Linked DNA regions of Homo sapiens: all the other regions are linked to region 1. The links are contacts of gene promoters, found by promoter capture Hi-C in human tissues and cell types (Jung and others, 2019). All regions are on one chromosome and are shown on one strand. Each heading gives the region's core, a stretch centred on a gene start or on the middle of the fragment in contact. The rest is flanking DNA. Distances are from core to core; before and after follow the strand shown. Region 1 holds the start of NACAD (NAC alpha domain containing). Region 2 has its middle 15 kb from the start of PURB. Region 3 has its middle 34 kb from the start of PURB. Region 4 overlaps PURB (purine rich element binding protein B).

Evidence for each region. The method cuts DNA at HindIII sites, captures the fragments that hold promoters and counts their contacts. A contact is called where the count stands out against the background at its distance.
Region 2: a contact is called between a fragment that was not itself captured here and the fragment with the promoter of NACAD in region 1, in 1 of the 25 tissues and cell types used here (dorsolateral prefrontal cortex).
Region 3: a fragment that was not itself captured here is called in contact with the fragment with the promoter of NACAD in region 1 in 1 of the 25 tissues and cell types used here (aorta).
Region 4: a contact is called between a fragment that was not itself captured here and the fragment with the promoter of NACAD in region 1, in 1 of the 25 tissues and cell types used here (spleen).

What each region holds. Positions count from the first base shown.
Region 1 is chr7:45,086,811-45,094,237 of GRCh38, reverse strand. It overlaps NACAD (NAC alpha domain containing), which reads left to right and starts at 5,269. Exons shown (of 8, transcript NM_001146334.2): 1 at 5,269-5,410. The coding sequence starts at 5,344. The HindIII fragment of the contact is 12,529 bases long and covers 1-7,427 here.
Region 2 is chr7:44,897,356-44,904,212 of GRCh38, reverse strand. No RefSeq gene overlaps it. Among named protein-coding and RNA genes, the nearest start is that of PURB, 15 kb to the right of the region's middle. The HindIII fragment of the contact is 4,747 bases long and covers 986-5,732 here.
Region 3 is chr7:44,916,826-44,923,043 of GRCh38, reverse strand. It overlaps the pseudogene MRPS23P1. Among named protein-coding and RNA genes, the nearest start is that of PURB, 34 kb to the right of the region's middle. The HindIII fragment of the contact is 4,290 bases long and covers 1,140-5,429 here.
Region 4 is chr7:44,871,879-44,878,846 of GRCh38, reverse strand. It overlaps PURB (purine rich element binding protein B), which reads left to right. Exons shown (of 1, transcript NM_033224.5): 1 at 1-2,548. Among named protein-coding and RNA genes, the nearest start is that of MIR4657, 6.4 kb to the left of the region's middle. RefSeq lists a silencer at 883-1,177. The HindIII fragment of the contact is 4,404 bases long and covers 252-4,655 here.

The DNA.
Region 1 (7,427 bases), core at 4,020-6,519:
CCCACCACCACGCTTGGCTAATTTTTGTATTTTTTAGTAGAGATGGGGTTTTGCCGTGTTGGCCAGGCTGGTCTTGAACTCCTGACCTCAGGTGATCCACCCACCTCAGCTTCCCAAAATGCTGGGATTACAGGCATGTGGGTCTATTTTCATATATTCTTTTTTAGTTCATTGAACTTTGTGGCTGTGTAGATTATTGTTCTTCAGTAAATTTGAGAAGTTTTCAGTCATTACTATTTCATATATTTTTCTTTCTCCTTTTTCTTTTCTCTCCTTTTGGTATTCCCATTATGTGTATGTGGGTGTGCTTAATAGTGTTCACATTCTCTGGAGTTTCTGTTCATTTTTCCTTTTTTTTCTGTTATTCAGTTTGTATAATCTCCATCAATCTCTAATCTCTATCAAGTTCACTAATTCTTTCTTCGCCCACTGAAATCTACTGTTCAGCCCTCTTGTGAATTTTTTCTTTCAGATATTTTACTTTTCAACTCCATAATTTGCATTTTTAAAAAATTTATATCCAGCCTGGGCAACATGGTGAGACCTCGTCTCTACAAAAAAATTTTAAAATTAGCTGGGTGTGGTGGCACATACCTCAACTATTCAGGAGGCTGAAGTGGGAAGATCACCTGAGCCCCAGAGGTGGAGGCTGCAATGAGCCATGATCACACCACCGCACTCCGGCTGGGGCAACAGAGTGACAGCCTGTCTCAAAAAAAATTTTTTTTTAATTAAAAAAATAATTTCTATCTCTTTGCTGATATTCTCTATTTGATGGAATATCATCATATACCTTCCATTACTTCTTTAATCATACTTTCCCTTATTCTACGAACATATTCGTAGTGGTTATTTTGAAATATTTTTCTGTTAAAATCTTGTTGCTTACACAGGCAGGTTCTGTTCCTGCCTTTTTTATTTTTCTGGTATACAAGTCATACTTTCATTTCTTTGCCAATTTTTTGTTGGAAAGTGGACATTTTAATAACATTAAATAAATAATTGAACAGTAACCCAATAGCAACTCTGGGTACAGGTCCAAACCCCCTCCCTTCTGGAGCTTGTATTGCTGTTTGCTTGTTTATTTGCTTAGTGACTAGCTGGATTATTTTTGGTGAGGTCTTTCGCGCTCCCCTACAATGTTCCGCCTCTGATGGTCCTCTTCAGGGAGGTGCAGCTATGTGTATGCCCACAGTCACCCTGGAATGAGAGTGGTTCTGGTAAGGCTCTCCTACTCTCTTTTCCTAACCATGCCCAGCTGTTAAACTCCACTAATTGCCACTCCTAAACTCCACTGATTGCTCTATTGTTTTCGACAATACTCTGGGCAGAAATTCCTCTGCAAACTCATCCAAATTGTGGCCTCTTAGCTAGAATAGTTTCAGAGGCCAGTGTTTAACATTTTCTTTAATCCCAGTAGGGCTCCACCCAGGTGTCTTATTACCCCATTTTCTCCTGCAAACTAGCCAACCTCCAGCCTAGGCTGTATCTTCATTAGATCCATGAATCTCCTTCCAGTTGCCTTTCACCATAACCTCTACTGCTGTTGAGAATACCCTTGGGTTTAAACTTCCTATGTTGCCTTGCAAGTAAGGTCATTTCCTCTGGGAAGAGATCATGGGCTATCTGTTTTACAACCTGCCTCTCCCCTCCAGGCAAAATCTCTTAGCTCAGTGGCAAACTTCTGAGTCACACTCCCACTCTAGGAGCTGAGCAGTCAGTGGAAGGGAGGCAGCAGCCTCTCCTGGCATGGAACTCTCACCTCATAAGCGGTGAGAAGGGCTGTCAGGACCCCAGTATTCTCAGCATGCCACACCCGAAGTAGAGTCCACTTTCCACAAGTGGGGGCTAAGTGGAAGAAGGGAGCCCCACCTCAACCAGACTCACCCAGGACTTACTTCCACAACAGGCAGCTGGGAGCAGGATGAGATATGCTGAAGTACTCCGTCCTCCCAGTAAGAAAGCCCTCTGACCGGGAGATGGAAGAAAAGAAGCCTGTGTTCTTGGCAACACCAGTCTGGTGTGGAGTCCACCTCCCTTTGCTGGAGTGAGTTGTCTCGATTCAAATACCACAGACTCTCGCCTTTCTTACTAAATTCTCATAGATTTTCTTGAATAGATGTTTCTTTCTTTTTTTTTTTTGAAACAGAGTCTCACTCCATCACCCAGGCTGGAGTGCAGTGGCAGGATCTCGGCTCACTGCAACGAACCTCCGCCTCCAGGGTTCAAGCAATTCTCCTGCCTCAGCCTCCCTAGTAGGTAGGATTACAGGTGTGCATCACCATACCCAACTAATTTTTGTATTTTTTTTAAGTAGAGATGGATTTTCACCATGTTAGCCAGGCTGGTCTCGAACTCCTGATCTCAAGTGATCCGCCCACCTTGGCCTCCCAAAATGCTGGGATTACAGGCGTGAGCCACCACATCCAGCCTTGAACAGATGTTTCTTCATTTGCTGTTTGCCCTTCAGACCATTTCCAGAAGCTTTAATTTGTTCTCTCTTTCACTTTTATTTTGTTGGGCCCTTTCTTTTTTTTTTTTTTTCCCAAGACGGAGTCTCACTCTGTCACCAGGCTGGAGTGCAGTGGCACGATCTCAGCTCACTGCAACCTATGCCTCTCAGGTTCAAGCAATTATCCTGCCTCAGCCTCCCGAGTAGCTGGGACTACAGGCATGCACCATCACGCCCGGCTAATTTTTGTATTTTTAGTAGAGACAGGGTTTCACCATGTTGGCCAGGAAGGTCTTGATTTCTTGACCTCATGATCTGCCCACCTCAGCCTCCTGAAGTGCTGGGATTACAGGCATGAGCCACCACGCCTGGCTTGCTGACCTTTCAACTCAGTTTGTTTTTTTTTTTTTTTAATAATTTTTACCAGGCTGGGTGTGGTGGCTCACACCTGTAATTCCAACACTTTGGGAGGCCAAGGTGGGTGGATCACGAGGTCAGGAGTTCAAGACCAGCCTGGCCAACAGGGTGAAACCCCGTCTCTACTAAAAATACAAAAATTAGCCAGGCATGGTGGGACCTGTAGTCCCAGCTGCTCGGGAGGCTGAGACAGTAGGATCGCTTGAACCCGGAAGACAGAGGTTGCAGTGAGCCGAGATCATGCCACTGCACTACAGACTGGTCAAAAGAGCAAGACTCCATCTCAAATTAAAAAATTAAAATTAATAATAATAATTTTTACCAGTTTCACTGGGGAGCTGCTCAGCAGAACTCCCCATGCTTTCATTCTGGAAGTCAATCTGCCTTTTATTTCTTCTTGCTTTATTGCAAGGTTTAGAAATTCCAATAATATGTTGAAAAGAGTGGTGAGTGCGGACACCCTTGCCTTGTTCCCAATCTTAAAAAGCATTCAGTCTTTCACCATTAAGTATGATGTTAGCTGTATAAGTTTTTTATATAAGATCTTTATCAAGTTTATTTTTAACTTGCTGAAAGTGTTTTTTTTTAAATCATGAATGATGTTGGTTATGTCAAACACATTTTCTGTGTCAACTGATACCAAAATTTTTCTTCTTTAGCCTGTTGGTGTTCTGGAGTATTGTTGATTGATTTTCAACTGTCAAACCAGCCTTGCATACGTGGAATAAATTCCACTTGGTCATGGTGTATTTTTTTTATACATCATTATATTTGATTTGCCAATATTGAGAATTTTTGTGCCTGAATTCATGAGAGATGCTGGTCTGCAGTTTTCGTTTTGGGGGTCTTGGGGTGTATTGACACTTTGTTAGTTTTTTTTTTTTTTTTTTTTTTTTTGAGACGGAGTCTCGCTCTGTCGCCCAGGCTGGAGTGCAGTGGTGCGATCTCGGCTCACTGCAACCTCCGCTTCCCGGGTTAACGCCATTCTCCTGCCTCAGCCTCCTGAGTAGCTGGGACTACAGGAGCCCGCTACCACTCCCGGCTCATTTTCTGTATTTTTAGTAGAGACGGGGTTTCACCACGTTAGCCAGAATGGCCTCGATCTCCTGACCTCGTGATCCGCCAGCCTCGGCCTCCCAAAGTGCTGGGATTACAGGCGTGAGCCTCCGCGCCTGGCGACACATTGTTAGTTTTGACATCAGGATATTTCTTGCCTTATAAAATGAGTTAGGAAGTGTCCCCTTCTCTTTTGTTTTCTGGAAGAGATTGTTTGAAGTTGATGTTAATTCTAATGGTGTGGTGTGTCTGACTCCTGGGGTACAGCGGGGAGAGATGCCCAGCAGGCAGCCAGGTGTGTAGCACTGAGCCTTGAGGCAGGTCTGGGGGAGTCAGAGGGCAGCCCCTGGCTTCATGAGCTCAAAGTTAGAACCCACAGAAGACTGAGGATGTTGAAACCTCCCTCCCTGCCTGTGACAATGGCTACTCTGATTCCCCCCACCCCAGTCAGGGGTGATGACAATGTCTCATTCATCTGTCTCCCTGGTGCCTGGCACGGGGGAGGAGGGGTGCTCAGTGAATCTGGGTGGCGCAGTAGCCTGTGTGAAAGCAAGAGGCATTTCAGGAAATTCACGGGGCGGGCTTCCTCCTGGGAGGTGTGGCAGAGGGTGCTGCCAGGAATAGAGGGAAACACTTTCTTCCTTTTCCTTCTACTGCCTAGTGTGGGGGTGGAGGGGAGATGATAGGACAGATCACCGAGTTGCCTAGAGACCTGGAGACCGACCCATCCGGGTCGCCTTCCCTGGTGCGCTCTCGTCGGCTCCATCCCTGGTTGCCATGGAGACAGGAGGCGGTTGCCACGGAGACCGACGACTGCCAGGACCAGCCAATCACTCCAGAGCTGCAGCTCCAGCTCACCTTTTGCATGGAGGCATCGGGCTGGGCGGGGCCCCCTCCCTCCCCAGGCCCTGCACCCTCTGCTTGGTCAGCGGGGAAGGAGGCTGCGCCGCCAACTCCACCCAAAGCGCTCCGAGCATCCCAGAATCCCAACCACCTCCCCAGCCTCCCACAACCAGGGTTCTAGGGGCGTCCCCGCCTCTTCCTGGCCACGGGCGAATGCCACCCTGAGGCAACCCAGCTTCCAATTGGCCCTGAAACCCTCCCTCGTAAATGCTGTGGAAAGGGTGGGACCGGGCGCAGGCGCCCACCCCCGCTCCCCCACGAAACCGCCCACAGCGAGAGGGAGGCCACAGCCGGGTGGGGTGGGGGCGGGGAGGGAGCCCCCCCTACGCCCTCCGCAGTGCCTGGCGAGCCCGCGCACGCTCACTCGCTGGGACAGGCGGGCGGGGCGGCCTGACGTCACCCACTGCCCCCACCGCCCGGCCGAGGGGCGGTGGCCGCGCAGGCTCGGCGGGGCGGCGGCACGGACTGACGGAGGGTCGGAAGGACTGAGGGACGGGCGGGCGCACGGCCAGGCCATGCCTGGGGAGGCTGCCCGCGCCGAGCTGCTGCTGCCCGAGGCGGACCGACCCGGGCCCCGCACAGGTGAGGCCGTGGCCACTCTTTCCCTGCCTTCAGCCTCTCCCCTCTCCAGCCCGGGTTCTCTTTCCATCGCTCACCTTTCACCCCTCTCCCCCATCCCCCTGGCCCCCCTCGAGTCCCCTCCCCTTTCCGCGCCCTGTCCTTCCCTCCATCTGAACCCTGCTACCGCCTCTCTCAGAACTGCGGGGAAGGTGGGGCGCACGAAGTGCCCGCCGCGAGCCAGAAAGAACGTGGGGGCTTAAGCCCTTGGCTTCCGACCCAGGGATCGTGGGGCTCGCATCCCGCCCGCTGCATCCCGTTGTTTGCACCGAGCTGCCAGCCTGCTGGGGCTGGGCCGCTCTGGACAGAGGCAGCGGGTTCTGGAGGCGGGGTGTCCGGCTGATACCCCCAGTACGATCAGGTGACCACCGGGAGGGTCCTCAGTTGCACCCGGTCTGTCCTGGGCCGGCGACTGGTCATGGCTCTGGAGGGAGGAGCAGGACTGGCCAGAGCCTAGGAAGCCCGGATGGAGGGCCAGGTGGTGGAATAAAGCCTAAGTTGGGTCTGGAAGGTGGAAGGCCTTGGGGGAGGTGGCCTGATTAGCAATGGCCCTGGGTGTGCAGACCACCTGTCCTTAGGCTGGGTCAACAAATGCTGGTGGAGGCTGATGGGGTCTACGGGGCCTAGAAAGAGCCGAGCCTGGACAGTCCTGGCGTGGAGGTCAGCCATGTGTGGGTAGGGCCAAGGGCACCTTGCTGTGGGCAAGAAGTCACCCAGAGATGGGACCACTGCTGGGGCCTGGGGCCTGGTTTGGGGTGACACAGGCTGCTGCCTCTGCTCTAGGTGGGAGGCAGGGAGTGCAGGCCCAGACTTCCCAGCCCCAGGGTCTTGTGCTGGCTCTGTTCTGGCTTGCTTGGTGACCTTGAATGAGTTATAAAAACCTTTGGCCTTTGGTTTCTGCTCCATCCCAACAGCTCAGCCGTTCCCCTGCCCTGGGGGCCACACCAGGGGCCAGAACCAAGAGCCCAGCTTCAGGGCACCCAGTGATGCCCCACCAGCCACGCCCACTCCTGATGTTGGGTGTCAGGCATGCAAGAACCCAAAGGACCCCCTTGTCTCAGGACCCCCTGGATGTCCCATCACCCCAGCAGCAAAGCCCTTGGGTGACAAGTTTTGGCTGGTGGTTCAGGGCTCAGGGCTCTGATGCTGCTGAGGGGAGCTGGAGCAGCCTGGCAACAGGGTCCCCCTTCTTTCAGCTTCAACTCTAATCCTGGCTCTGCTTTGTAGATGAGAAAGCTGAGGTGCAAGAGATGTTGTCCTGGTCACCAGTGAGTGCGGGAGAGCAGGAGCCACCAGGCAGGCATCTGCAGCCTGGAGAGCTGGCCCCTGTGTGCCGCCGCTCCCCCACCTTGGGCAAGACCTGGCCTGGGCTCTGAAGGGCCTTCATTGGATGCTTCAAACAGAGGTGCCTTTGGCCTAGGTCCAAGTGAGGGAGTGGACATAATGGAGACATTTAAAATGAAGCTTATGAGCATTTAGAGCACACAGGAAAATGCTTATGAGATTAGGTTGGGTGAAAATAGCTAGATTCAAAACTGAATGTGCAATGTGATCTCGCCTGTGATAAAATACAGGCCAGTAAGAGTCCAGGAGGCAGAAAACCATAGCGGTCTGGTGTGCCGCAACCTCGGAGGGGTTTTCTTCCATCTTCCTGAGTCCCCTAAGTCCTTTCTGACCCATGAGGGCTACTTCCTATGGACTCCTTTCTCAGCTGGAGGTGTGTTAGCTCACAGACGTTTACTGAGTACCAGAGCCTCCTCATACTGAAGCCTGCCCAGCGGGTTGGGGGAGTGCATCATGGGACCCAGAGAAGGCCCACAGGGCAGGGTGGGAACTCCCAGCACCCGGGAAGGAACTGGTGGTCACCCATGGGGTGGCTGCCACCAAGGAGAGGACTCAGCCAGAGGCTGCTGTTGGCCCTCTGAAGCTGTCCTGTGCTCTTGCTGGGCTCCATGGTCTCCGTTCCTGCCCACCACTGCCC
Region 2 (6,857 bases), core at 2,110-4,609, 190 kb after region 1:
AATAACCTAAATGTCCATTGATGGATGAAAGGACAAAGGAAATGTGGTGTGTAAATCCAATGACATATTAAAAAGAAAGGAAATTCTACAATATGCAGCAACACGGATGAACCTTGAGAACATTATGCTAAGTGAAATAAGCCATTACAATGTGGTTACCAGGGGCTAGGGGCAGGGGAAAAAGGGGAATTGCTAATCAATGCATATAAAGCCCTAGAGATCTTCTGTACATTTTCCCTATAGTTAACAATACAGTATTATGCACTTAAAAATCTGTTAAGAGGGTAGATACATTGTGTTCTTACTACAATTAAAAAATGTTTAAAGAATGTTTTTAAATAATAGTCTAAAGGAAATAAAAGATAAGCTACAAATAAGAGAAGACATAATCAACAAATGATTGCACTAATAACAGGTACAGGCAGGGTGAGGTGGCCCACACCTGTAATCCTAACACTTTGGGAGGCCAAGGCAGGAGGATCACTTGAGTCCAGGAGTTCAAGACCAACCTGGGCAACTGGGCACCTTGTCTCTACAAAAAATTAAAAAATAAAAATTAGGCTTGGGCATGGTGGCTCACGTCTGTAATCCCAGCACTATGGGAGGCCAAGGTGGGTGGATCACCTGAGGTCGGGAGTTCCAGACCAGCCTGACCAACATGGTAAAACCCCATCTCTACTAAAAATACAAAAATTAGCTGGGTGTGGTGGTGGGCACCTGTAATCCCAGCTACTCAGGAGGCTGAGGCAGGAGAATCACTTGAACCCAGGAGGTGGAAGTTGCAGTGAGCCGAGATCGCACCACTGCACTCTAGCCTGGGCGACAAAGCAATACTCTGTCTCAAAATAAAATAAAATTTAATTTAATTTAAAAATAAAAATAAAAATTAGCCAGGCATGGTGACACATGCATGTAGTCCCAACTACTCAGGAGGCTAAGGCAGGAAGATCACTTGAGCCCAGGAGTTCAAGGCTGCAGTGCTGTAATTACACCACTGCACTCCAGCCTGGGTGACGGAGTAAAACTCTGTCCTCAAAAAATTAAAAATTAGAGGCAGTTGGATCACTTGAGGCCAAGAGTTTGAGACCAGCCCGGTCAACACAGCGGAACCCCGTCTCTATTAAAAATACAAAAATCAGTCGGGCATGGTGGCGCATGCCTATAATCCCAACTACTTGGGAGGCTGAGGCAAGAGATTCATTTGAACCCAGGAGGCAGAGGTTGCAGTGAGCTGAGATCGCACTATTGCACTCCAGCCTGGGTGACAGAGGGAGGCTCTGTCTCAAACAAAACAAAACAAAACAAAACAAAATTTTTTTTTTGAGACGGAGTTTTGCTCTTGTTGCCCAGGCTGGAGTGCAATGGCACGATCTCGGCTCACCGCAACCTCTACCTCCCAGGTTCAAGCAATTCTCCTGCCTCAGCCTCCCTAGTAGCTTGGATTACAGGCATGTGCCCCTATGCCCGGCTAATTTTGTATTTTTAGTAGAGGCGGAGTTTCTCCATGTTGGTCAGGCTGGTCTCGAACTCCTGACCTCAGGTGATCCATCCGCCTTGGCCTCCCAAAGTGCTGGGATTACAGGCATGAGCACCACGCCCAGCCAACAAACTTTTAATTAAAAAAATATTTAAAGAACATGTGGCCGGGCACAGTGGCTCATGCCTGTAATCCCAGCTCTTCGGGAGGCTAAGGTGGGTGGATCACGAGGTCAGCAGATCGAGACCATCCTGGCTAACATGGTGAAACCCCATCTCTACTAAAAATACAAAAAATTAGCCGCGCGTGGTAGTGGGTGCCTGTAGTCCCAGCTGCTCGGGAGGCTGAGGCAGGAGGATTGCTTGAACCCCAGAGGCGGAGGTTGCAGTGAGCCAAGATCGCGCCACTGCACTCCAGCCTGGGCGACAGAGCGAGACTCCGACTCAAAAAAAAAAGAACAGGTACAGAATTCCTAGCCCTATTTTTTTAAATGGGCAAAAGACATGAAGAGGCATTTCACCAAAGGGGGAACACATACAGCCAACAGGCACTCAGAGGGATGCTTGGCCTCCTCAGTAATCAGGGAAATGTAAACCAAGATAAGAGATAGTACTTTTCATTCATTCCACTGGCAATAATTAAAAATCTGACAATGCCAAGAGCTGAAAAGGTTCTGGATTAAAGACATCACTTATATATACATGAGGGAAGTGAAAAGTTATAATGATATGGGAAAACCACTGGGCATTTTCTCACAAACTCTGAAATTCACATGCCTGACAACTCAGAAAACCACTCTCAGGTGCGTACCTATGACAAGCCCCACACATCTGCCGCAGGAGACAAGTTCCACTGAGTGAGAACATTCACAACCCTATGCCCATGGGCAGATGATATGGTGGTGATATTTGCTCATGATGAAATAATATACAACCCAGGAGGCGGGGGTTGCAGTAAGCCGAGATCACGCCACTGCACTCAGCCTGGGCAACAAAGTGAGACTCTGTCTAAAAAATAAAAAAAAGAAAAGAAATAGTATACAGTGGTGAACATTAATTAACTTTAGCTAAACACAAAAAGCATGGGTAAACTTTTAAACCATAATGTGGAGTGAAAAAAATCAAGTCCATCAAGCATATGTAATGGTTAATTTTATGCATCAACTTGGCTGAGCCATGGCACCCAGTTTTTGGTCAGACGCTAGTCTTGTTACTGTGAAAGTATTTTTTAGATGAATTAACATTTAAGTCAGTAGCATTTGAGGAAAACAAATGAGCCTCCATATTGCGTGGGCCTCATCCAATCAGTTGTAGGCCTTAAGAGAAAAGACTGAAGTTCCCAAAGAGGGAATTCTGCCTCAAGAAGGCCTTCAGACTCAAGCTGCAACATCTAACATCAACTCTTCCCTGCATCTCCAGCCCAACAATCCGTCCTGCACATTTGGGGCTTGTCAGCCCCTATAATCATGTGAGCCAATTCTTTTTTTTTTTTTTTTTTGAGATGGAGTTTCGCTCTTATTGCCCAGGCTGGAGTGCAATGGCGTGATCTTCACTCACTGCAACCTCTGCCTCCAGGGTTCAAGTGATTCTCCTGCCCCAGCCTCCCAAGTAGCTGGGATTACAGACATGCGCCACCACACCCAGCTAATTTTGTATTTTTGGTAGAGATGGGGTTTCACTATGTTGGTCAGGCTGGTCTCGAACTCCTGACCTCCAGTGATCCACTCATCTTGGCCTCCCAAAGTGCTGGGATTACAGGCATGAGCCACTGTGCCCGGCCTGTGAGCCAATTCTTTACTGAAATCTCCCAGATAGATACATAGATGGATAGGCAGATGGACACCCAGCTCGGTGGTTCACACTTGTAATCCCAGCACTCTGGGAGGCCAAGGCTGGTGGATCACCTGACGTCAGAAGTTCGAGACCAGCCTGGCCAACATGATGAAACCCTGTCTCTACTAAAAATACAAAAACTAGCCAGGCGTGGTGGTGTGCGCCTGTAATCCCAGCTACCCAGGAGGCTAAGGCAGGAGAATCTCTTGAGCCTGGGAGGTGGACGTTGCAGTGAGCCAAGATTGCACCATTGCACTCCAGCCTGGGTGACAGAGTGAGACTCCATCTCAAAAAAAAAAAAAAAAGGCAGATGGATAGATATCCTATTGGTTCTGCTTCTCTTGAGAACGCTGACTAATACAATGTATAATATGATTCTCTTTTTATAATGTTTAAAAAATAAAACTAAATGATTTTTTAAAAATAATTTAGGATTTTGGCCACCTGAGAGGTGGGGGAAGAATAAAATATGGAAGGAAGACATATAGTAGATTTGAATTATTGTCAGTGTTCTAGTTCTTGAGTTGGCTGGTAATTCAAGAAGTTTTATGAAAACATTATTAGCAAATGAATGAATGAATAAATGGATTAACAATGAGAGTGTATCATGAACCAAAGATTTTGATCAGTCTAATCCTGTGCATAAAATAAAAATTTCATGTTACACATCAGTATGCATGGTTGGATCTTAGTTATGTAATACAAATATATATACATATATATATTTATACACCCATATATGTGTAAATTTGCATTTAAAATTTTGCATAGGAAAAACTCAGAAGGCTAGACACTAATATCTCTGTGTAGCACGCAGCATTCTGAATCATTTACATGTTCTTATTTTGTTTCTTTTCTGAAATTTCAAAATTTTCTACAATAAAAGCATATTTGTCAAAGGAGAACACATTTTTATTTTTTATTTTTTATTTATTTATTTTTTTTGAGATGGAGTCTTGCTTTTGTTGCCCAGGCTGGAGTGCAGTGGCACGATCTTGGCTCACTGCAACCTCTGCCTCCCAGGTTCAAGCGATTCTCCTGCCTCAGCCTCCCGAGTAGCTGGGATTACAGGCGCCCACCACCATGCCCAGCTAATTTTTGTATTTGTAGTAAAAACGGGGTTTTGCAATGTCGACCAGGCTGGTCTCGAACTCCTGACCTCGTGACCTGCCCACCTCAGCCTCCCAAAGTGCTGAGATTACAGGCGTGAGCCACCACGCCCAGCCAAGAACACATTTTTAAATAGGAGAAGAAACATAGTGACATCATCAGGATGTTCTGTTGAAACTCAGTTATGATTGTCTAATGTGCGTTCATTTTCATGTTTAATGAATGGAAAGTTGAAAATTGTGTACTACTTTTCAATTTAATTCCATTAAATATTTAGTGAGTGTTTACAACGAAGATACAAAAATAAGAGATAGTCCCTGACCCTAAGGAGTTTGCAAGTATGCAGGAAAAGAAGACTTCAGAAATAGCTGCATCCTAAGGCAGAACATGGTAAATGCTTAAGAGTATACCAGAGGGCTGTGTGTCTCTGTCCAGAGAGAACTCACCATGGCTCAGAGGCCCTTAGAAGATCTTCATAGAGATTCTAAATAGGCAAGGGACCAATTACAAGGATTTCATGCTAAACTAGACAGTGAAAACGAAAAGAATACAATGGGAAAAAGAGCACTAACAAAATTTATTTTAAATCATTTTTAAAACATTTCAAGAAGTTGAAGGTTTCTTTTTACTTTTTATTTTTACATAATTTCAGACTTTGAGAAAAGTTGCAAGAACAGCACAAAGAATTTCTGTATATGGCTGGGCATGGTGGCTCATGCCTATAATCCTAACACTTTGGAAGGCTGAGGCTGGAGGATCACCTGAGTTCAGGGGTTCAAGACCAGCCTGGCCAACATGGCAAAACTCTGTCTCTACTACAAACACAAAAATTAGCTAGGCGTGGTGGCGCGTGCCTGTAATCCCAGCTACTCGGAAGACTGAGGCGGGAGAATCACCTGAACCCAGGAGGCAGACGTTGCAGTGAGCCGAGATCACACCACTGCACTCCAGCCTGGGCAACAGAGTGAGACTCCGTCTCAAAAAAAATATATAAATAAATAAATAAAATAAAAAGAATTTCTGTATATCCTTGTTAAAAAAAAAAGCTTTAGAAACAAGTTTAACAGTTTATCTGAGTAAATAACAATTCCTGAATCAATTAGCACTCAGAATCAGAAGAGGTTCAGGGCCGGGTGAGGTGGCTCATGCCTGTAATCTCAGCACTTTGGGAAGCCGAGGCAGGCACATCACAAGGTCAGGAGATAGAGGCCATCCTGGCTAACACGGTGAAACCCCGCCTCTACTAAAAGCACAAAAAATTAGCCAGGCATGGTGGTGGGCGCCTGTAGACGCAGCTACTCGGGAGGCTAAGGCAGGAGAATGGAGTGAACCTGGGAGGCGGAGCTTGCAGTGAGCCAAGATTACGCCACTGCACTCCAGCCTGGGCGACAAAGCCAGACTCCATCTTAAAAAAAAAAAAAAAAAAAAAAGGAGAGGTTCAGGGACCTCTGCCTGGCAGTGAACAGTGAGCTTTTATAGGCTGAACACAAAAATAAAGAAATCACTTGATTGGCTACAGCCAGGCATCTGCCTTATTTGGGCATGGTATGATGAGTTGGCGGCCTGTCATTTGCTGAAGCTTGGCTGTTGTGATTGGCTGAAATCTGGCTATTTATTACAAAAAACATACTCTTAAGTTTTGGTTTCTTTATATACTAAGTTAGGTTGCATTGTATTATGCCGGAATTCAAAAAACAGAGACAGCCTCAGGCTAATGGCCTCCTGCTTATTTAAATTTTTTTGGAGACAAGGTCTCACTCTGTTGCCCAGGCTGGCCTGAGCTCAAGTGGTCCTCCCACCTCGGCCTCCCAAAGTGCTGGGAGTACAGGTGTGAGCCACCACACCCAGCCAGCATATTTAATTTAACACCCTTTACCATTCTCCAACTGTTAATACTTTCCCACGTTTGCTTTATCATTCTCTGTGAATGTGTATGCCTTTTTCTGAATGAGTGTAAATTGCAGCAATTATGTCTCTTTCATTTCTAAATACTTCAGTGTGTATTTCCTAAAAACAAAGATATTACCTTACATAACCAAAGTACAATTATCAAAATCAGGAAATTAACATTAACACAGTGTTATTATCTGATTTACAGACCTTAATGTTTGTTATGGCAAAGAAGAGCCCAAACACATACTGTCATTACTTCTCTTAATTTTCCTTTAATCTGAAACCATTCTTCAGTTTTTCTCTTTCATGACACTGACATTTTTGTAGTTATTTCATAGCCTGTGGTTTTGTGGAATTTCCCCCAATGTGAGTTTGTCTGCTATTTCCTCCTGATGAGACTCAGGTTTTGCATTTTGTGTGGAAATACTAAAGAAGTGATGCTATGTCCTTCTTGGTGATCGTATCAGGAGGTTCATGATGCCCATGTGTCCCATTTCTGCTGCTGTTAACTGTGATCACTGGGATAAGGCAGTGAATGCCAGGTT
Region 3 (6,218 bases), core at 2,035-4,534, 170 kb after region 1:
TCGAGACCATCCTGGCTAACAAGGTGAAACCCCGTCTCTACTAAAAATACAAAAAATTAGCCGGGCGCGGTGGCGGGCGCCTGTAGTCCCAGCTACTCGGGAGGCTGAGGCAGGAGAATGGCGTGAACCCGGGAGGCGGAGCTTGCAGTGAGCCGAGATTGCGCCACTGCAGTCCGCAGTCCGGCCTGGGTGACAGAGCGAGACTCCGTCTCAAAAAAAAAAAAAAAAAAAAAAAATAAATATGTGGGTAAATCTCTGTTCGGGGCTCTCAGCTCTGAAGGCTGTGAGACCCCTGATTTCCCACTTTACACCTCTATATTTCTGTGTGTGTGTCTTTAATTCCTCTAGCACCACTAGGTTAGGGTCTCCCCGACCCAGCTGGTCTCGGTAAAAAAGAAACAGGTGAAATTGATTGTAATCATATTTTATTTAAAATGGTTGATCTAAAACATTATAATTTCAATGTATCATCAATATGAAAATGATCGATACTACATTTTACATTGTGTGCACTATGTCTTTGACGGCCAGTGTACTCTTTACACTTACTGTACTTCTCCAGTGGACTCGCTGCACTTCAAGTGCTCAGAGCACGTGTGGGTGCCAGAGTGGACAGCATAGAGCTTCGGAGGCCTGCAGGTACTCCCCAAATATTTCAAGAATGAATGAATGAATGAACGTAGGCATGAACTGTGGATTGCCACAAGTTCTCACTGGGACCATGTCCTATACCCACCTCATCAGGGACGGCCACCAGGGGGCGCGAGAGTGCTAGTTGACGGGCTAGTTGACAGGCTCCACATGGCATTCTTGCTGAGAGCCCAGGCCTGGGGTGGGGTGTCCCGGGGCCACAGGTCTCACAGGACTCAGCAACCCAGGGCGTTGAGTCCCCATGCCCCCCACCACCACCCCCAACCATCTGCTGCCGGCCACTTTTCCATGCTTCAGCCATCCCCTGGTGAGGAAGGGGAGGAGGGCTGGCACTGGTCAGGCAAGGAGCAGGTCTGAGGGTCTCAGAGAGGGATCCCTCTGGCTGCTCAGTAAGGCACAAGCCCCTTGACTCATCAAGTGTGAGGGTCCCTGCAGAGCCGACATAATAGCTGGGAAGAAAGGCCGCTCTATGGCAGAGTCAACCCTCTTTGTGGCTCTGGCTCAACAGTGGAGAGACACCCTCCTCCCTTTTCAGGGCGGCTCTCCCACTGGGGCACCTCCCTCACTGATGCTATCTCCTCGACAACCACTGGTTTACAGCCAGCCTGTCTCTAGCCCCATTTCTCTTCCAGGTTGTCACCTCTTGATCTAGCCCGCCCATTCAGTAGGTAAGAACACCCAACCCCCACCAATCTCTCCCCACACATGCCTTCTGCGCTTCCCGGAGGTTCCTGCCAGTGGCCCTTGAGTTGCTCCTTCAGGTGCTCCCAGTAGGTGCTCCCCCAGGTGCTCTTCCTAGATGTTAGATGCACCTCCTTTTTTTTCCTCTTCCTTTGTTTTTAAGCACCTAGGGAATTTTATTTATTTATTTACTTATAGATGGAGTCTTGCTCTGCTGTCCATGCTGGAAAGCAGTGGCATGATCTCAGGTCACTGCAACTGCTGCCTCCCAGGTTCAAGTGATTCTCCTGCCTCAACCTCCAGAATCGCTGGGATTACAGGCATGTGCCACTACGCCTGGCTAATTTTTTTGTTTTGTTTTGCTTTTGCTTTTTTTTTTTTTTTTTTTTGAGACAGAGTTTCGCTCTTGTTGCCCAGTCTGGAGTGCAATGGTGCGATCTCAGCTCACTGCAACCTCCGACTTCCAGGTTCAAGCGATTCTCCTGTCTCAGTCTCCTGAGCAGCTGGGATTACAGGCGCCCACCAATATGCCCAGCTAATTTTTGGTATTTTTAGTAGAGAAGGGGTTTCACCATGTTGGCCATGCTGGTTTCAAACTCCTGACTTCAAGTGATCCACCCGCCTTGGCCTCCCAAAGTGCTGGGATTATAGGCATGAGCCACCGCACCATGCCATTTTTTTGTATTTTTAGTAGAGAAGGGGTTTCACCATGTTGGCCAGGCTGGTTTCAAACTCCTGACCTCAGGTGATCCACCCACCTCGGCCTCCCAAAGTGCTGGGATTACAGGCATGAGCCACCACACCCGGCCATTTTTTTGTATTTTTAGTAGAGACAGGGTTTCACCATCTTGGCCAGGCTGGTCTCAAAACTCCTGACCTCAAGTGATCTGTCCGCCTGGGCCTCCCAAAGTGCTGGGATTACAGGTATGAGCTACCACGCCCAGCTGGAGTTCTTTATTTAATGATGTCCTACCATGAAAGTTCACATAACTCCTTTTTTTTTCAGTTTTTATTATTCTTTTATATAAATCCTCTGGATCATAACTGCTTCTGTCAAACCATGATACCGAGCTTTATGACAACTCAGAAGTAAGGACTAAGAGAAGGCAAATATAATGCCTTCAAGATCAAGAGACGTTTATGTAGTTCAACTGTTAGAAACAGCTCAACATTGAGCTAGTGAGTAGAGTGTGTATGTCAGTATCCACAATATACAAACCCTTCACGGAGCTGCAAGACCTTTTAACTGTCCTTCAGGTGCTTCCAAATGCTGGTCCTGTGGAACTTCTTTCTTTCTGAGGCTGGTTTTCTTTCAACACAGTTTGGGGTCTGACAATCATGTGTTCAGATTTCCAGGAAACGTGACTACCTTCCTGTTGAGTCCTTGTTTCTCCTACGCATCTTAAAATGACACTTTCTGCCAATAAAGCTTTCCTTGTTTCTACAAATAACTTCTCTTCATCTGTTTCTTTAAGTTTCTGCAGCTCAATATACTTCACAAAGCATTGACAGGTAGGCTTGAAGCTTGGATTGAACAGATCAAAAGCTTTTGACCAGATTTGTAGGCTGAATAGAATTTTGCTCCAATGGGCTGGGCGCGATGGCTTATGCCTGTAATCCCAGCTCTTTGGGAGGCCAGGGCAGGTGGATCACCGGAGGTCAGGAGTTCGAGACCAGCCTGGCCAACATGACAAAACCCCGTCTCTACTTAAAATACAAAAATTAGCTGGGTGTGGTGGCGTAAGTAGCTGGTGTAATCCCAGCTACTCGGGAGGCTGAGGCAGGAGAATCACTTGAAATCAGGAGGCGAAGGTTGCAGTGAGCCGAGATCATGCCATTGTACTCCAGCCTGGGCAAAAAGAGCAAAACTTCATCTAAAAAAAAAAAAAAGAATTTTGCTCCAATGGGATCCTCATGATACCAGATGTCCTCCATGAGAATTTTGGCTTTGCCATATCATAAGTGGGGCCTCTGGAAGACTGGCTCCTTCCACAGGGGAAAGGTGTTATGTATGTGATGCTAGAGAGGTTTCTCCTTCAATTTCTCCTACAGCACTCCTGCTCAAATCACATACTGAGTCTGCAAAAAGATGCTCCCTGCGATTTCCAGCCAGCTGTAGATGTTCCTCTTGAGTGCTTCCTGAGTGGTCCTCAAGGGTGCTCCTCCTAGATTCTCCAGATGCTCCCCAGGATACGCCTCCCATAAAAGACATCTAGGTGATTTTCCACTCCGTGAATTCTTAGGACACTTTCTTAACTGCTTCTGGTTTCTCTGTTTTCTACTTAACTTTGCATATTCCTGTTAGATCAATCTTTCTAAAGTGCAGCTCTGAAAGGGGGTATGGTGGGGGGATACTTCTGTGCAAATGCCTGAAATACCTCCAGTGGCATCTCCATCAGAATAAAACCCAGACATCTGCATAGAACATGTAATGATCAAGTCAGAGTATTTAGGATATCCATTGCCCTAAGCATTTATCATTTCTATGTGTTGGAAACATTTCAAGTTCTCTCTTCTACCTACGTTGAAATAAACAAAACATTGTTGTTAACTATAGCCACCTTACTGTGACTAGATCTTTTTCCTTCTAACTGTATGTTCGTACCCATTAACCAACGTGTTCTTCCCCCCTCCCACTGACACCCCTTTCCCAGTCTCTACTATCTATCATTCTACTCTCTACTTCTATGGGATCCACTTTTTTTTTTTGAGATGGAGTTTCACTCTTGTTGCCCAGGCTGGAGTGCAGTGGTGCAATCTCAGCTCACCACAACTTCTGCCTCCCAGGTTCAAGCGATTCTCCTTCCTCAGCCTCCTGAGTAGCTGGGATTACAGGCATGTACCACCACGCCCAGCTAATTTTTGTATTTTTAGTAGAAACAGGGTCTCACCATGTTGGCCAGGTTGGTCTCAAACTCCTGACCTCAAGTGGTCTGCCCACCTCGGCCTCTCAAAGTGCTGAAATTATAGGCGTGAGCCACCACGCCCAGTCAATTTTTTTTTCTTTTTTTGGAGACAGTCTCACTCTGTAGCCCAGGCTGCAGTGCAGTGGTGCGATCTTGGCTCACTGCAACCTCCGCCTACCAGGTTCCAGTGATTCTCCTGCCTCAGCCTCCCAAGTAGCTGGGATTACAGGCACACACCACCACGCCCAGCTAATTTTTGTATTTTTAGTAAAAACAGGGCTTCACCATATGGCCAGGTTGGTCTCAAACTCCTGACCTCAAGTGATCCGTCCACCTCGGGCCCCCCAAGTGCTGGGATTACAGGTGTGAGCCACTGTGCTTGGCCTGAGATCAACTTTTCTAGCTCCCACATATGAGTAAGAACATGTGATATGTTCAATAATGAGAGGATGAAAAAAAGGACATGTGATATATGTCTTTCCATGCCTAGCATATTTCACTTAACATAATGATCTCCATTTCCATCCATGTTGCTGCAAAGGACAGGATTTCATTCTTTTTTATGGCTGAATAGTATTCCATTCTATACATGTAACAAAATATCACATGTACCCCATAAATATGTACAAATATGTATTGATTAAACAAAAGAAATGTATCCAATAAAGAATGAAGATGCTAGTAACCAGAATTTGGCATATCCTGTGTTTTAGAAACCAGTGCTTACCAGATTTCTGGAAGATAAATAATCAGCTAGTTATTCTGTATGTGATGGTCTATGTGGATTGAACCCTTTCCTTACTATTTTTACTGGTATTTTGTAAATATGAAGCCATTGAAGAATAAACAAATTCTATGTTGTCCCAAAGGAAAATACAACTAATTACGTATCAGTGACTAATTAAATACGGTCATTTTTTTCTTCTGAAACACTTCAATATAGTTTAAAAATAAAATAGTTTACATAACTTTAAAAAAAATCCAGACATTTGGAAGTAGCCTGTCCCTCTGAACCCTCAGAATGTTTGTGAACTTGTCTCTGGCCAGGTACAGTGGCTTGTGCCTATAATCCCGGCACTTGGGGAGGCTGAGGCAGGAGGATCACTTGAGGCCAGGAGTTAGAGATAGGCCTGATCAACATAGCCAGACCCTGTCTCTACAGAAAAAAAAATTTTTTTTTTAATTAGCTGGGCATGGTGGCCTGTGCCTATAGTTCCAGCTACTTGGGAGGCTGAGGCAGGACGATTGCTTGAGGCAAGGAGTGCAAGGCTGCAGTGAGCTATGATTGTGCTGCTGCACTCCAGCCTAGGTGACAGGGCAAGAGCCCATCTCAAAAATAATAATAATAATAATGATAAATAAATAACTAAAATTAGCTGGGTGTGGTGGCATATTCCTGTAGTCTCAGCTACTTGGGAGGCTGAGGTGGGAGGATCTCTTGAGCCTAGGAGTTTGAGGCTGCAGTAAGCTGTGATGGTGCCACCGCACTTCAGCCTGGGCAACACAGTGAGACCCTATCTCTAAAAAAAAAAAAGGTAGCAGGGATACTTTTTTCTTATCTCCTACTAAATGCCTATTTACCTTTCCAGAATGCCACACTTGGCTTATAAACACTAATGACCTAACAGAATGCCTTACTCAGTGGGAGGCCAAATAAATAACTCTCATGTTGTTCTCTTTCTTCATGTGACCCAGTCTGAGTATTTGAACCTAAGGGTAGAACTTACCCAACACCATACTTAGAAATGACTTCAGGTCAGGCATGGTGGCTCACGCCTGTAATCCCAGCACTTTGGGAGGCCGAGGCGGGCCGATCACGAGGTCAGGAGATCCAGACCATCCTGGCTAACACGGTGAAACCCCGTCTCTACTAAAAATACAAAAAATTAGCTGGGCATGGTGGCGTGCCCCTGTAGTCCCAGCTACTCGGGAGGCTGAGGCAGCAGAATGGTGTGAACCCGGGAGGCAGAGGTTGCAGTG
Region 4 (6,968 bases), core at 1,204-3,703, 210 kb after region 1:
AACTCAGTTTTATTACTGACGGATTTAACAGACTCTTACTTGAAAATTGTCCAATTATCAGTACTGAAAATTAGATTTGGAAAATGAAAAAATAATAAAATCGCATCAAGAAAACTTATTACCTTAGAGATTCCCAATTGATATCTGTACCCCTGATCCAAGTAAGGCCTTTATGAATGTATTTTATATTTCCTAAAGAAATAGGGAATATGCCATCAGTGTAATCACCTCTATTCACAGTCATTTAATTTGAAAATCTAACTCATGTCTCTTGAATTAGACATTCCAATTGGGATAGGTAGAGTCATGTTAAAACAATAGAATAGCAACTGCCATATTGGTAGTTTCACTGCTCAATATGATTTCTAATAAGAGCAGAGCTTTATTGGAAGCTAAAACTCATTTTTCTCCATAGATGATTCTAACAGTTTAATAAAAAAGTATAATTATACTTTAAGTGTCAACAGATTTTGAGTCTAGAAGCAAATTTCATTTTCCTTGTGTTATATCTAATATCCATTGACATGGGTAAGAAAACTAATTATGTCTTTTTAGTATGATGAAATGTGGGCCCAGAGTATTGGAAAGAAAGCAATAGCCCTATTCAGTGTCCACTAGGATGGATATTGCAGAAGGCATGAGTTTGTCCTTTTTTCCCCCTTACCTTAAATAACACTTCAATAGCTAACTTTTTCCAAAATATCCATTTAGGCCATCTCTTATTTCTTAAAGCCAAATATTTCGTCCCCAGTCTTAACTCTGAGTTGCAAGATCAGGCTGGTTGGAAGAATCTTTATATTTAGAAATAGGATGGTGAGTGGTTTGTTTATTCTCTTGTAAAATTCCTTTTTCAGAGACATAACTGCAGGGAGAGTCCCAAGAGAACTGAAGAACTGGATTATATCATTAAACACATTTGTGTTGTAGGAATTTGGGAGTTTCATTTTGAACTGATAAGATATTAGACATAAACCCTTGTTCCAGCCCACATGTGTCATCCCTGTGTACAAAAGCTCTCTGGATTCTTTTTTTTTTTTTGAGACGGAGTTTCGCTCTTATCGTCCAGGCTGGAGTGAGTGTAGTGGCTTGATCTCAGCTCACTGCAACCTTTGCCTCCCGGGCTCAAGCGATTCTCCTGCCTCAGCCTCCCAAGTAGCTGGGATTACAAGCATGTGCCACCATGCCCAGCTAATTTTCTGTATTTTTAGTAGAGACGGGGTTTCACCATGTTGGCCAGGCTGGTCTCGAACTCCTGACCTCAAGTGATCTGCCCGCCTCAGCTTCCCAAAATGCTGGAATTACAGGCATGAGCCATCACGCCTAGCCTACTCTCTGAATTTCTAAAAGTCAGTAGGTTGACCAAAAAGTCTAGAAACTGGCTTTAAGTCAGTATGGGACGTACTTATAAAGAGTCCATGGTTTTGCACGTTTCGGTAGACAAGTAAATCTGAGTTATTTTTCAATGACTTACCAATATTTGAATAGTAACTAAGATCGTCAGTGTATCTGGACTTCTTTTTTTGAAGTTCTAAAACAATTATAGTAGGGATTTATTATTTTGGGCCTCCATCCAGATGTTTTTCCAAGATCATTTTTAAAATTCATTTGTCTTCTGTTTCCAGATAACATACTTTCCGTTCTATAGGAATCTTCACTGCCAATCATAGTATCTACCAGTGGCTTTCTTAGACTATTCACTCCAAAGCTGGGACTGATGTCCTGCCAGTAGAGAATCTACAGAAATAATTTGAATGAATTAAAACCAAATCTTGATAGCAGGAGACAGCTTCCTGATCTAGATGTACAATTAGAGTTTAGGTTGGAAATTACTTTAAAATGTGTTTTTTGGGGATGTCTTCAATCTCTGTGTAAATACCCACATGCTTATGCATTGTAAACCAAGTGTGTATTCCTGTGTATGAATTTGTAGAACTGATTTCTGCTTCAAGAGAAGCTGCACCTTTAATTTTATAAGGTCCCCTCCACCTGTAACCCTATAAATGTCTGTAAATAAAACACTAAAATTTGTAGTGATAGGATCAATTTGGGAATATCTGCTGAGAGACCAAAAAGTTCATTTTTTTAAGTACCTTGGTTAAAGAGTAAAGATTATTCCTCTTATTTTTTAAAGAAGAATGCACTTTAACAAACATAGAGCTGCATGGGCAATTCAAACAAATCTGTGAAGTGCAGTACCCATTCAGAAATCACACTTCCTGAAAACCGTTCAAAAGCAGAGTCCAGACGGGCTGTTGATCTCACTGCCTGTAGGTTGAAGCTCAGATTCTGATCAATTTTGAGAGGAGCAGGGCTGCTTCAAAAGAGCAATGTGAATACAGTCAGAAGCTTCAGACTGGTCTGTAAAAATGGCGGGTCCCGTATTTACCACTAACTAGCAAAACTGACAGAAAAACTCACAGAGAAAAAATGTAAGAATCCTTCCTGCTGGTGTGCACTCCTTACAATAGACTTTTGCAAATGGAGTTTTACAGTCTATATTTAAAAAAAATTGTATGTTTGTAACAAATAAAGTATGCAGAAAAGTGAATGACAATCTTGTGCTTGTGTCTCTAAGTAATTATGTGGTGATAGGGGAGGGAAATCCCATCTGTTGGGGCTCACGAATGGGTATGGAATCAGGAGTTCCCACTTAAAATGACTTAAGTCATTGCACATTTCATCTGAACTATAGCCTGTTCTAGAACTTCTGGGTTGCCGTAACCCTTTTCTAGTAAGCAATTTGTGGAGTAAATCAAAACTGCAAATTAATTTTATGCTTTGGTTGATAACCTAGACAGCCACTTGGTTCCCTTAATTTCTTCCATCATTTACAATGGCTTGAAAGAAACTGCTAAGTCTTCATTCATTGTTTATCAACATTGTAGTTGCTTAGGAGGTAAATTAGGGCAGCCTTTTCTTGCCCTAATGTTTAAGAAAAAAACTGAATTGTGTCCATTTATCCTGGCCAGGTTGGTCTCAGGAACCCCTTTACAATTAAATTTACTGAATATCCCCAAGGAGGTTTTATCTTTCTAGGCTTTATCCGTAGATACCATTTTAGAAGCTGAAACTTTTTTTTTTTTTTTGAGACGGAGTCTTGCTCTGTCGCCAGGCTGGAGTACAGCAGCGCAATCTCAGCTCACTGTAACCTCCGCCTCCTGGGTTCAAGCGATTCCCCTGCCTCAGCCTCCCAAGTAGTTGTGATTACGGGCACGTGCCACCACGCCCGGCTAATTTTTTGTATTTCAGTAGAGACAGGGTATTACCATGTTGGCCAAGATGGTCTTAATCTGACCTCGTGATCTACCCATCTCAGCCTCCCAAAGTGTTGGGATTACAGGCGTGAGCCACCGCGCCGGCCAAGAAGCTGAAACATTTTCCAGACAAAAATAACAAGCACACATTCCATCAGCTATCAGAGCAATTACATGATAATGTCATAGCCTCTGGAAAACTCCACTGTAAATTTATGAAAGAATGAAAGTGGAAAATGCGAATGTTCTTATGAACATAGTTTTGACCTCTTGGGCTCCTGAGTCTCGGGCAACCCTAGGGGATTCTGGATCACACTCTTGAGAACCACTAACTAGACTAATAAGTAAATAGTGCCTTTCTGAAAATGAGGGATGGTTTTTTATGTATAGATAGCTTAATCCTTTAGTTCTCGTATATTTTCTTTATATTAGAAGCTCCTGCTACGAAATGCCTACACCGCCCCCAGCCCCCCCAACACACAACATACATAACTTTCCTGTGATTGTCCATTTCTACAATCTCTTAAGTGGTTCTCAATGCTGGCTGCAGAACCACCTGGAAAGCTTTGAATACTGATGCCCAGGCACCACCATAGACCAACTGAATCAATCTTTGAGACACAGACATGGAGTTTTTTGGTAATGCTTTGCCTTTTTGAGTTCCCCAAGGTGATTCTAGCCTACAGTCAGGGGTGAAACCAGTGGCCTGTGGGATTTTAAGGTATAAAGAAGGGAAAAGGGTTGGGAATCTCTGCCAGAGGAAAACAAAAGAGTATAGCAGAACATTCCTTGAATGTATGGCTTTCACCTCCCAACCACTGTGCCTAAATTACCACTTAAACCTCTAAAATAACTCATCTTGAGAAAAGTTTGTAAATGGAATCCTTCAGTATTGATATTAGTAGTCCCTCCCTGGGAAAATCTGGGGTTTTACTAGCACAGAGGAACCCTTAGCATGCATCGGAGTCACTTAGAGGGCTGGTTAAAACATGGATTACTGAGTTTCTGATTTAGCAGTTCTAGAGGGAACTTAAGTTGCATTTCTTTTTTTTTTTTTTCCCCTTGAGACAGAGTTTCACTCTTGTTGCCCAGGCTGGAGTGCAATGGCACGATCTCGGCTCACTGCAACCTCCACCTCCCAGGTTCAAGTGATTCTCCTGCCTCAGCCTCCCGAGTAGCTGGGATTACAGGCACGTGCCACTGTGCCCAGCTAATTTTTGTATTTTTAGTAGAGACAGGGTTTCTCCATGTTGGCCAGGCTGGTCCCAAACTCCTGACCTCAGGTGATCCACCCGCCTCAGCCTCCCAAAGTGCTGGGATTATAGGCGTGAGCTACCGTGCCCAGCCTTAAGTTGCATTTCTAACAAGTTCCCAGATAATGCTGATCCTGCTGATTTGAGGACCATGCTTGGGGACTAACTGCAGAAATCAACAAAAGTTATGGAAAGAATTAGCTTAGTTGCCAACTGACACAGGTCTCAGGAAGTATTTGCCCTGATGAGTTAGTCTGCTGTAGTGCTGCTGAGGCTGGGTTTGGTTCACTAGAAACCCTGTAGATGGTTTGAATTTTTCAGATTCATGTGAAGTTTGTTACTGTACAAGTTTAAACAATAGATGCAGCCAGGCTACAGCCTGAAGAGCTGCATTAGAGCAAATGCCTGCAGGAACAGGGCTATTACCTTTATAGTTTTTGTATTTTTTCATGTCATGACTATCCCTGACTGTTCTAAACTAACAGTCTGATTTTGGGCAAGTACCTTCAGTACCAAAATCTTTTTTTTTTTTTTTTTTTGAGACATAGTCTCACTCTGTCACCCAGGCTGGAGTGTAGTGGCGTGATCTCAGCTCACTGCAACCTCCACCTCCTGGGTTCAAGCAATTTTCTGCCTCAGCCTCCTGAGTAGCTGGGATTACAGGCGCCCGCCGCCATGCCCAGCTAATTTTTTCTTTTTATTTTTAGTAGAGACTGGGTTTCACCAAGTTGGCCAGGCTGGTCTTGAACTCCTGACCTCATGATCCACCTGCCTTAGCCTCCCAAAGTGCTGGGATTACAGGCGTAAGCCACCACGCCCAGCCCCAAAATCTTTTAATAACAATTCTTAGCTCAGATCGTTTGTAAATTCATTCAGTTAATTATTGGGTAGCTGCTATATTCCAGGTATTGTACTAGGGTAGAGGATACGGTTGTCGTTCATATGGGACTTATAGTTTAGTGGGTCGGGAGAAAGAAGAGAAAGCTTTTAGGAAGAACTAGTCTCCCTAGCTACTAACCAGGCCTCCATTCAAGCAATAGATAATTTGATTTGCAACATCGTTCCTGACCCAGACATTTGCTCCTTACAAGAGACAGCCCCATTTAAATTTAAAAGAAAAGGAAATACTCCCTACACAAGACAGATGTTTAACTTATCTTAGACATCCATGGTACCTTATGTAGACCCCTCAGTGGACCTAATTAAGGTCTCCAAACTAGTTAATGACAACAGCAAACATACATCTAAATTAGCTCTCTTGACATGACACCATGTTGTTATAGAAAGGACAAACTTCTTACTCCTATACTGTGTGTCTGAGATGACACAACAAATCCACTGGTAGTTTGTAGAACAGAGGTTGGAGAGAATGGACTAAGTCTCTCAAGCCTGTGGGTAACACAGAGATTGCCCTAGACTCAACCCTCACACACACTTCCCCACCTTCTCACATGCAGGACTGTACCAGGAATTCCTCCACGCAACCCTACACTGTCCTCACACTCAAAATCATCCTATCCTTTGCCTCATTTACTCAGTACCCCTTATAGTTGGTGGCCATTTCTTTTCTTTTTTGAAGTTATAGTCTCCAAACTTTCTTTTATTACAAAATTAATGCAACTCATTTTTACAAAGATGAACAGTATAGATTCTCTGTAAAGACATAAATGAGCTCTCCCTCTCCCTCTCCCTCTCCGTCTCTCTCCCTCCCGCTCTCGCTCTCACTCTCCGTCTCCCTCTTTCTACAGTCTCCCTCTCTTGCGGAGCCTGGACTGTACTGCCATGATCTCGGCTCACTGCAACCTCCCTGCCTCGGGCTCCGGTGATTCTCCTGCCTGGGCCTGCCGGGTGCCTGGCATTCCAGGCACGCGCCGCCACTCCTGACTGGTTTTTGTATTTTTGGTGGAGACGGGGTTTCGCCATGTTGACCAGGCTGGTCTCCAGCTCCTGGCCTTGGGTGATCTGCCCGCCTCGGCCTCCCGAGGTGCTGGGATTGCAGACGGAGTCTCGCTCACTCAGTGCTCAATGTTGCCCAGGCTGGAGTGCAGTGGCGTGATCTCGGCTCGCTGCAACCCCCACCTCCCAGCCGCCTGCCTTGGCCTCCCAAAGTGCTAAGATTACAGCCTCTGCCCACCCGCCACCCCGTCTGGGAAGTGAGCAGAGTCTCTGCCTGGCCGCCGATCATCTGGGATGTGAGAAGCGCCTCTGCCCGGCCGCCCCATCTGGGAAGTGAGGAGCGCCTCTGCCCGGCTGCCCCGAATGGGAAGTGAGGAGTGCCTCTGCCTGGCCACCCCCATCTGGGAAGTGAGGAGCGCCTCTGCCCGTCCGCCACCCCATCTAGGAAGTGAGGAGCGTCTCTGCCTGACTGCCCATCGTCTGGGATGTGAGGAGCGCCTCTGCCCGGCCGCCCATCGTCTGGGAGGTGAGGAGCGCCTCTCCCTGGCCGCCCCGTCTGGGAGGT